2 separate regions of the Homo sapiens genome follow, and region 2 is linked to region 1. Evidence: promoter capture Hi-C in human tissues and cell types (Jung and others, 2019). All regions are on one chromosome and are shown on one strand. Each heading gives the region's core, a stretch centred on a gene start or on the middle of the fragment in contact. The rest is flanking DNA. Distances are from core to core; before and after follow the strand shown. Region 1 holds the start of DDI1 (DDI proteasomal shuttling factor 1). Region 2 overlaps PDGFDDN (PDGFD downstream neighbor).

Region 1 (5,091 bases), core at 836-3,335:
AGGCAGAGGATATCGACTATCTTGGTTCATAAGTAGGTACACCTGGGAGTACCAAGCCAGGGAAACATGAGCTCTGCACAGTGCAAAACACTTTTTTTTTTTTTTTGAGATGGAGTCTCGCTCTGTCACCCAGGCTGGAGTGCACTGGCGCAATCTCGGCTTACTGCAAGCTCCACCTCCAAGGTTCATGCCATTCTCCTGCCTCAGCCTCCCGAGTAGCTGGGACTACAGGCGCCCACCACAACGCCTGGCTAATTTTTTGTATTTTTAGTAGAGACAGGGTTTCACCATGTTAGCCAGGATGGTCTCGATCTCCTGACCTCTTGATCCGCCCACCCTGGCCTCCCAAACTGCTGGGATTACAGGCATGAGCCACCGCGCCAGGCAGCAAAACACTTTATTAAACATAGAGAAAAATAACTGGCATGCAAGGATTTCTACCCAATCATCATTTGCCTTGAAGGACTTTTCACCATGACAGCCTTGTATGTGTGTGTGTGTAAGTGGGGGTGGGGGAGAGTAGGGAGAAGGTGGCTGTGCCCAAATGTCAGAGAGAGGCATATTGGCCTCTAGGGTGGCATCCTTAATGAATTTTCCTACAGAACTGATGTCAAATGGGTCACCTCAAAGGTTCATCTCACTCATTCATTCATTCCCCTTCAAGGCAATGGCCCATCTACCCTATATCCCATTTTAGAGACCCTCTGTGTTATCCACACATTCCACTTTTTTACACTCCCCACCTCCAAGGGGTATGCACACTCTGTCCATTTTACTCAAGAAACATGTTTATTCTCTACTGCTTTGGCTTTGGGCCTCCTGACTTTCCACACTCTAGCAACAGCTCCCTCTTTGAACCACTGGAAAAGCCTCCTGACTGGCCCTCCTGCCACATTATGTCCTCCATGTGTTGCAAGAAGCCTCTTCCTTAAGTCAATTTAAAAAAAAAAATCACAAACACCTGCTTCAAATCTTTTCCCTTTCCTTTCCTTCCTTACTTCTTTTTCTTTTTTTTTTTTTTTTTTTTTGGAGGAGGAATTCTTGCTAATTGATAATATTTAATATTTAAACTCCGTAGATTCACATATGACTTCATCAATTGGCTCAACTAATTTTTTTCCAGCTTCATATCCTGGTATTCAAAGTCATGTACAATTTTTTTATTGCACAAAATGTCTCATCTTTCTCTAGAAATAACAGCCCTTGCCATAAATTCCTGCTTTTGTAACATGAAACTGCTTTCCTTTGGAGTGAGACCACTTTGCACCTGGAAGATGCTCATCCTTCAACATCCAGCTTGTCTCCTCCTTAGGAAAATATCCTCTGTTCTGTTGGTGATACTAAAGGCAGTACCCTGAACATGTCTTTGTAAAAGATTTTGCCTTTAGTATTGTGATTACCCATTCACCTGTCTATCCCTTTCCAGAAATGTGAGCTCCTCAAGGGCAGGCTCCAAATCTGACTTTCCTACTATGCACATAGAATGGTACTTGCCATGTAAGAAACAAATCCTTACTGTTTGGGGAAAAAACAAAAGTACAAAGAATACAACTCTAAAATGAACAAAACAAATGATAATATGCTGTTTAGAAAGTGTTGAAAAACTAGGCATGGTGGCTCACACCTGTAATTCCAGCACTTTGGGAGGCCGAAGTGTGGGGGATTGCTTGAGCCCAGGAGTTGGAGGCCAGCCCGGACAACACAGTGAGACCCCAAATCTATTAAAAAAAAATACAACAATTAGCCGGGCATGGTAGACTGTGCCTGTAGTTCCAGCTTTTCAGGAGGCTGAGAGAGGAGGACTGCTTGAGCCTACGAGGTCGAGGCTACAGTGAGCTGTGATTATGCCACTGTACTCCAGCCTGGGTGACAGGATAAGATCCTGTCTCAAAAAAAAATGTGTTGAAATCATTTCTTTCATATCATGTGTTAAATAGGCTTTGAAGGGCTGGCCTTGAAACCTGACAGCTTTGAGCCATCGTGTATCCATGGGAGTAGGCATTCTAGGTTCCAAACAGCACACTTAGAAATGGACTTTGGAACACAACGTGCTACCTCAAGGCTCCACCTGGCCACACAGCAGGCACTGAGGCTGGGAGACAGCCCCCAGACAGATGAGTGTCCGCGCCTCTCTGAGAGGTGAATGAGCCCGGACGGTCCCTACCTACCAAGTCCTGAGGAGCAGCGGCACCAACGACGCAGGCCCGCCCCAGCCCGCCAGTGAGCCGCCCATGCCCTCTGCTAGCCCGGCCCGCCCGGGCCCCCGCCATGCTGATCACCGTGTACTGCGTGCGGAGGGACCTCTCCGAGGTCACCTTCTCTCTCCAGGTCAGCCCCGACTTTGAGCTCCGAAACTTCAAGGTCCTCTGCGAAGCGGAGTCCAGAGTCCCCGTCGAAGAGATCCAGATCATCCACATGGAGCGACTCCTCATCGAGGACCACTGTTCCCTGGGCTCCTACGGCCTCAAAGATGGCGATATCGTGGTTTTACTGCAGAAGGACAATGTGGGACCTCGGGCTCCAGGGCGTGCCCCGAACCAGCCTCGTGTAGACTTCAGTGGCATTGCGGTGCCTGGGACGTCCAGCTCCCGTCCACAGCACCCTGGACAGCAGCAGCAGCGCACACCCGCTGCCCAGCGGTCACAGGGCTTGGCGTCAGGAGAGAAGGTGGCCGGCCTGCAAGGTCTGGGCAGCCCCGCCCTGATCCGCAGCATGCTGCTCTCCAACCCCCACGATCTGTCCCTGCTCAAGGAACGCAACCCTCCCTTGGCGGAAGCCCTGCTCAGCGGAAGCCTTGAGACCTTTTCTCAGGTGCTGATGGAGCAGCAAAGGGAAAAGGCCTTGAGAGAGCAAGAGAGGCTTCGTCTCTACACAGCCGACCCACTGGATCGGGAAGCTCAGGCCAAAATAGAAGAGGAAATCCGGCAGCAAAACATTGAAGAAAACATGAATATAGCGATAGAAGAGGCCCCCGAGAGTTTTGGACAAGTGACGATGCTCTACATTAACTGCAAAGTGAATGGGCATCCTTTGAAGGCTTTTGTTGACTCGGGCGCCCAGATGACCATTATGAGCCAGGCTTGTGCCGAGCGATGTAACATCATGAGGCTGGTGGACCGACGGTGGGCTGGGGTTGCTAAAGGAGTGGGCACACAGAGAATTATTGGCCGTGTTCATCTAGCTCAGATTCAAATTGAAGGTGATTTCTTACAGTGCTCTTTCTCCATACTTGAGGATCAACCCATGGATATGCTTCTAGGCCTAGATATGCTCCGGAGACATCAATGTTCCATCGATTTGAAGAAAAATGTGCTGGTCATCGGCACCACTGGCACGCAGACTTATTTTCTTCCTGAGGGAGAGTTGCCCTTATGCTCTAGGATGGTAAGTGGGCAAGATGAGTCTTCGGACAAGGAAATTACACATTCAGTCATGGATTCAGGACGAAAAGAGCATTAAAGCACGTTATAAATATGTTACCACCTTGAGGGAGCCTCAGGTCCCCGGCAATTATAAGTTAAGAGCTTACTGGCAATGTAATCATTAAAAAACATCAGTAACAACTAAACCTGGCCTTGGGACTACGTTCTCAGATGGGTAACTAACGTCAATCCTGATTCCTTGGTCTTGGTCCCTCTTCCATTTCCCTTGTCCAGAGATCACTGAAAGGCATCCTGGGAAGGCTCTGGAGGCTCCAGCTGATTTCCAGATAATCCATGAAAAAGAAAACCAGCTTCTTCCTTTAGAGACACTATCCTATCAGATTACAGGTGGCTTATCCAAATCATTGCTATTTTGCAGAATTCCCTGGAAAAATGCTATGGCTGCAGACCTTACAAGGCATCCACATAAAACTATTTCACATCAGCACTAATAATTCTTTCTACTGAGAGAAATATGCCCATTTTCACAGGTTTTGTTTTCTTTGGGAAGGGTATTAGAAATGGTAGGTCAGTTACACTATGATGTTAACTAATACTTATACATGTCTGTTTGGGGCAGCATAAAGACCAATTTCCTCATATTTACACCTTCCCTTCCCCTGGATCCCCTGCAGTCACCCTGCAATCCACAGCTAAAGACTATTTTTGCCATATTTGAGAAAGTGGATTTATCTCCAAGGATGCTACATTAATTTTCTATTTCTCCTGCATTCAAAGAAACTCTGGCTATAAAACAAAGGCAATAAATTAGATTTTTTAAAAAAGAAATTATGGTACTTCTTGGGAGTCAAGTTGTACAGTGGTGGGAATGAGAGGTGGGGACAGGCAGTGGTCCAGGTTCTCTAATAGTCATTGCAACTAGATCATCTCTCTCTCTTTTTCAAAGTAAAAATCTGCTTTATACATTAAGCTGCTGCTACATCAGTATTGTTTGAACAAAGGTTTTCACTGTTAAAATAACATTTGAAAACTTTTGAATGAGAAGATCTCTAAGGCCTCATTCAGAATTATCCATTCTGACAATGTTAGTGTTTATTACAACTGACAGTGGGTAATGGAAGATCCTAGACTTAATTACAACCCATGGCTAAAGCACCTGAGAGAAAAGTTTCAGCTTCCTGAGGCCATCAGATGCAGGGGAAATGTTTCAGGACAATAATTTATCAAAACTAGTATTAAAACAGCGGATTCAAAATCAAGATGTGTATGTTTTGATTACACTTAATTACTTAGACAAATTAGTTCACCTACTTTACAACTGAGATTCCTCACCTAATAATTTTTTTTTTCCTGGGAGGGGTCACTTTTCAAGCACTAAAACCTCATTATCTTAAAGGATCTGGGATATCCTTTAAGTTATTCTATTTTCCCGACAAGATATAAAGCCACATAAAGCATTCCCAAAGGATACAGAAAAAAATAACTCTCCCTTATAATCTCCATATACTTTTTGTTTTGCTTCTTGGTAATACTAATCAACCTTTCTAAAGAGAGTCACCTCTTCCTTTCTAGCCACCATCAGTTCACCTCCCATTTTTCTTCTCTATAGGTGTTCCCATGCTCACATTTCCCAGTCTGGTCTACATTTGCACAAAGTTTTATACCCAGTAGAACTACTAAAAATGATCAAATGAACAGATTTCTTTCC
Region 2 (5,091 bases), core at 1,112-3,611, 130 kb before region 1:
AAATCCAATACACCTCTTTCTTTTGTAAATTGCCCAGTCTCAGGTATGTCTTTATCAGCAGCATGAGTAAAATTGAGTTACTCATGTTCCCAGCTGAGGAAGGACAAGGTGACACTGCCTTCTTGTTTCAGCTCTCATACTGTAAACGAGTGTCCTTTTCACAGTTGATTTACTGCCATGTTTTTAACACTTTTGTGCTTTTTGTTGAAGATTTTGCCATTTAAAATGGCTCCCAAGCATAGTTCTGAAGTGCTCTTTGGTGTTCCTAAATGCAATAAGGCTGTGAAGTACCTTATGGAAAAAAATATGTGTTAGGTAAGCTTGGTTCAGGCATGGGTTATAATGCTGTTGGCCATGAGTTCAATTTTAATGAATCAACAATATATATTAAATAAAGAATTCTTAACCAGAAGCACACAATAACCAAGTAGACTGGTGGACCGTCTGAAAGTTGATGAAAATGTGACCAGAGGCTTGCACAACCCTAAGCCAGGATTTCTCTGAGCAGCAGTGAAAACAGTATTTGCTAATTCAGTGAATCTGGCAACTTCATAGAACACAAGTGCCACAGACAACAATAATTTAATGTACAGTTGTCCCTTGATATCCACAGGGGATTCGTTTCAGGACCCCTGAGGATACCAAAATCTGGGGATGCTCAAGTCCCTTATCTAAAATGGCGCAGTGTTTACTATAACCTATGCACATCCTCCCATACGATTTAAATCATCTCTGGATTACTTATAACACCTAGCACAATATAAATACCATGTAAATAGTTGTTATACTGTGCTGTTTTAATTATTATTTAATTAAATTAATTAATTATTTTATTTATTTTTGAGATGGAGTCTTGCTCTGTCACCCAGGCTGTAGTGCAGTGGAGCAATCTTGCTCACTGCAGCCTCTGCTTCCTGGTTCAAGAGATTCTCGTGCCTCGCCCTCCTGAGTAGCAGGGGCTACAGGAGTGCACCACCATGCCTAATTTTTGTGTTTTTAGTAGAGACAGGGTTTCACCATGTTGGCCAGGCTGGTCTCAAACTTCTGACCTCAAGTGATCCGCCTGCCTTGGCCTCCCAAATTGTTGGGATTACAGGTGTGAGCCACTGAACTTGGCCAGTTTTTATTATTTTTATAGTTGTATTATATTTTTCATGTTTCCAAATATCTTTCATCTGCTGTTGGTTGAATCTATAGATGTGGAACCTGTGGATATAAAGGGCTAACTGCAGTTCTCTTTTCACTCACCTATCAACTCCTTGAGATAGTGGTTTTCACTCAGCATTTTCATGTAATCACAATTCCTCCCTCCAAATATCTTATCATCTGACTCACATTTCCACCATATGACATTCTCAGAGAACCAGAGACGGGTTTGGCCAGACATCAGAACTAATGAGAAGGAGGGACTCCCTCAGGACTTTCTGTGTGTTTGTGTCTTTCTTCCTTCTTTTCCTTTATAGTTTAACTTTCTCTAGATATTTAGTCTACATGGCAGAGAGTATGGCTGCCAATAGCCATTGATTTTCACATCCTACCATCCAAATAACCAAGGAGACTGTCTGAATCTCTCCTCAGGCCCATACATCCTGAGAAAGCTTGAGTCAGGTGCCCCTGGCTGTGACTAGAACGTGTGTGTGGTACTGTGAAGTGTGTAGTATTCTGGCTACAACTCTGGGTGATAATTAAATCTACAACTGCATAGCCTAATACAGTAGCCACTTGTCACATGTGGCAATTTATATTTAAATATTAAGTAAAATTAAATAAAATTTAAAAATCTTCAGCCACACTGGTCATGCTTCCAGTGCTCAGCAGCCAAGTGTGGCTATTAGCTGCTCTCTTAGAACAGATATAGAACATCTCCATCATCGCAAGAAGTTCTATTGGACAATACTGCTATAGATGAAGAGGAATCTCTCAGAAAAGAGATTAGGGTTAGAAAGGAGTATTTCTTACCATTTGACCCAGCCATCCCATTACTGGGTATATACCCAAAAGATTATAAATCATGCTGCTATAAAGACACATCCACATGTATGTCTATTGCGGCACTATTCACAATAGCAAAGACTTGGAACCAACCTGAATGTCCAACAATGATGGACTGGATTAAGAAAATGTGGCACATATACACCATGGAATACTATGCAGCCATAAAAAATGATGAGTTCATGTCCTTTGTAGGGACATGGATGAAGCTGGAAACCATCATTCTCAGCAAACTATCGCAAGGACAAAACATCAAACACCGCATGTTCTCACTCATAGGTGGGAATTGAACAGTGAGAACACATGGACACAGGAAGGGGAACATCACACACTGGGGCCTGTTGTGGGGTGGGGGAAGGGGGGAGGGATAGCATTAGGAGATATACCTAATGTTAATGATGAGTTAATGGGTGCAGCACACCAACATGGCACATGTATACGTATGTAACAAACCTGCACGTTGTGCACATGTACCCTAAAACTTAAAGTATAATAAAAATAAAAATAAAAGAAAGGAGTATTTCTGAGCAGATAAATCTGTAGGTGTTTCTCATACCTTCTCTGCCATAGTCGATAAAACTGACCCAGACTCTTTGCAACAATTTCTTCCTCTGGCACTTAGAACATTTTTATATTCTCACAATTGCCCTGTGATTCTTCCCCTTTCAGTTTTCACCCTCCCCTAAGTATCTGGACTGTTCCTGTGTTTTGTAATACCACTGTATATTGCTGACTTCTAAATTTACATCTGTCTCAGACCCTTCTTCTTAGCTCCAGACCCACAGACCTAACTGCCTACTTAATATCTCCAATTGGATATATCAAATGTCACTTGGAATTAATACCTCACACTGAATTCTTAATCTATCCTAAATCTCCTTCTCTTTGCATGTCCCCCATCTCAATAAATGGCACCTCTATCTGCACAGTTTGTTATGCCAGAAGCCTTGGAAAAATCCTTGCTATCTTCTATCTTCTTTTGCCTCAGTCTAATATATCCCCAACTCTGATAAATTAAAGATTCAAACTATTTCTTTAATATAGCTAGATTTTTTTTCATTTTTATTGCTACCATTTAATGTCACACTCTCCTTTCACTTTGCTTCTAACATTTATTCAACTTTCTGTTCCTGCTCTAATGTCATCTTCTCACAGAACCCTTCCTTGTCCTCTGATCTGGATTCCACCTTTTACTGTCATCACACATTATGCTTTTGCTTTTCACAAATGTATTGGGTTACATATGTAATTATTTGTTTAGTGTCTAGTCTTCTCTAGCCTCATGTAATGTCTTCTCTAGCTTGATAAAGGCAGGAAATACGTTTGTTTTATTTTCCTGTGAATCTGCTGTATTTAGCACAGGGCTGGACCTTTAGCCCTCAGTCAGTACTTAATACCTTTTCAGAACACATTTTTATGAGCTTTAGAAACTAGTCTTCTTCCCTCTTAATGGTTATGGAGGTCTTTCAGGTTCTGTGTATCTTCTTATGGTTTCAGCTTTGACCCTGAGAATGACTCCCTTTCAATGTTACAAGACCTGGCTCCTCTTCTTGGAGACATGCTTGCAAAATTCACCCCTCCTTCCTGCCTCCCTGGTTTTCCCACAAGAATTCTCTTGAACTCACATGACTTCTTCCTACAGGAGATCTCCAAGCCTGCACCTCCAGCCCATCCAACCACAAAGAACTTTGAAACCTCTTAACCTGTCTTGTCATCTTAGTTCATGCAAATAGCAACCCCTAGAGATTTGTAGTGCACAGCCTGAACAACCACAGGGGCAAACTTCCCTTCCTGTCTCTGAAGTCTCGCTTTATCCTTATTGTCTCACCCCTAGAACTTCAAGGAGCCTCATAACTCATAGCCCAATCCCTACTCTTTCTGTAGACCCATTTTCGAAAATGCAGAATTGCAGAATTGTTCTGCCGGAAGACACCTCCAGAACATCTTACATATCTGAGTGTGTAAATGAGGAAACATAGGTTTAGAAAGTGGCAGGCTAGTCACTACAACCAAGACCTTCTAACTTTCTGTCTGGTGCTCTATGACACATACAGCCCCCACTGTGCTCAGAGGTCCTCATGGAGCTTCCTTTACTAAATGTAAAAGACTAAATTCATTTGCCTACAGTTTCCTTTTCTTTCCTTTCGATCACTTTATATTTTCTGAACTGCCCACACTTACCTTATGCATTTTTGCTGGGAGACCTTTGTTCTTCCTGTTGATCTTACCTAGAATATCTTTCTCTAGTTTTATCCTCTGTTGTGAATCTTGTGTTTCAAGCCTCAAAGCATGTCTGATACATAGCGGGCTTTAATGTATTTGCTGTTGAATGAATGAATGAAACATGTAATTTAGTCAATTTTCCCCATATTGACTGTGGCTAAATTTCTATTGACAGAAGTCAACAAATATCTACCACCATATCCTGAAGTTTGCACCAAAGTGGACAGTACTGAAAAATATGCACCTGATGTGTTTGACTCTCAAAAAGCAGTGATTTCTTAAAGCAGTTGGGAATTTTACCCTATTAATTGCTCACTTGGGTAACCATGCAGTTGATCTCCTCGACTGATCTATCTCCTGTCTTTCCCAAAGCAGATATTGATCCTGATTTTCTCTGATTTGAAGACTGACAAGTAGAGGCAGGTGAGAAAGGAAGCCTGTGGGAGACACAGGGAGAAAGGAAAGTCTAGAAAGACACTAGAAGGCCTGAAGAGGAGAAATTTATACTATGACCTCAACCAGAAACAGGTTAGAGACCTTAGTTCTTAAAAGGGAACTTGTATTGTAGGTATTATTTAAAATGTAAATTGAATCCAAGAATGATTTTAACATTTGGTTTCTGGTCACTAAACCTGGCAATAAGTATAAACAGTTTAAAATAATCACAAAGTCAAATGATTTTGCTAGAAAATGAAGATTTCTTGGTCCACAGCTTGTTGCACTGAGTATATTAACCTATGTTAAGAAGTTAGCTCCACTCTCTTTTAATGTAGTCTGCTAAATAATTTTTAGACATCTCTATAGAAATGAAATTTATTCAAAAAAAGGACACAAATTAGTTTGCAAAATTCAGAAATATAACTGGAAAAGCAAGCA

What was found. Contacts are between HindIII fragments. The study calls those that stand out against the background at their distance.
Region 2: a fragment that was not itself captured here is called in contact with the fragment with the promoter of DDI1 in region 1 in 2 of the 25 tissues and cell types used here (adrenal gland and mesendoderm cells).

What each region holds. Positions count from the first base shown.
Region 1 is chr11:104,034,555-104,039,645 of GRCh38, forward strand. DDI1 (DDI proteasomal shuttling factor 1) reads left to right here and starts at 2,086. Exons shown (of 1, transcript NM_001001711.3): 1 at 2,086-4,642. The coding sequence starts at 2,269. The coding sequence ends at 3,459. All of the region lies in intron 1 of PDGFD (platelet derived growth factor D), which reads right to left. The HindIII fragment of the contact is 14,414 bases long and covers 1-5,091 here.
Region 2 is chr11:103,900,507-103,905,597 of GRCh38, forward strand. It overlaps PDGFDDN (PDGFD downstream neighbor), which reads right to left. Exons shown (of 4, transcript XR_947960.3): 1 at 4,174-5,091. Among named protein-coding and RNA genes, the nearest start is that of PDGFDDN, 3.8 kb to the right of the region's middle. RefSeq lists enhancers at 3,545-3,634, 4,055-4,224. The HindIII fragment of the contact is 4,922 bases long and covers 1-4,822 here.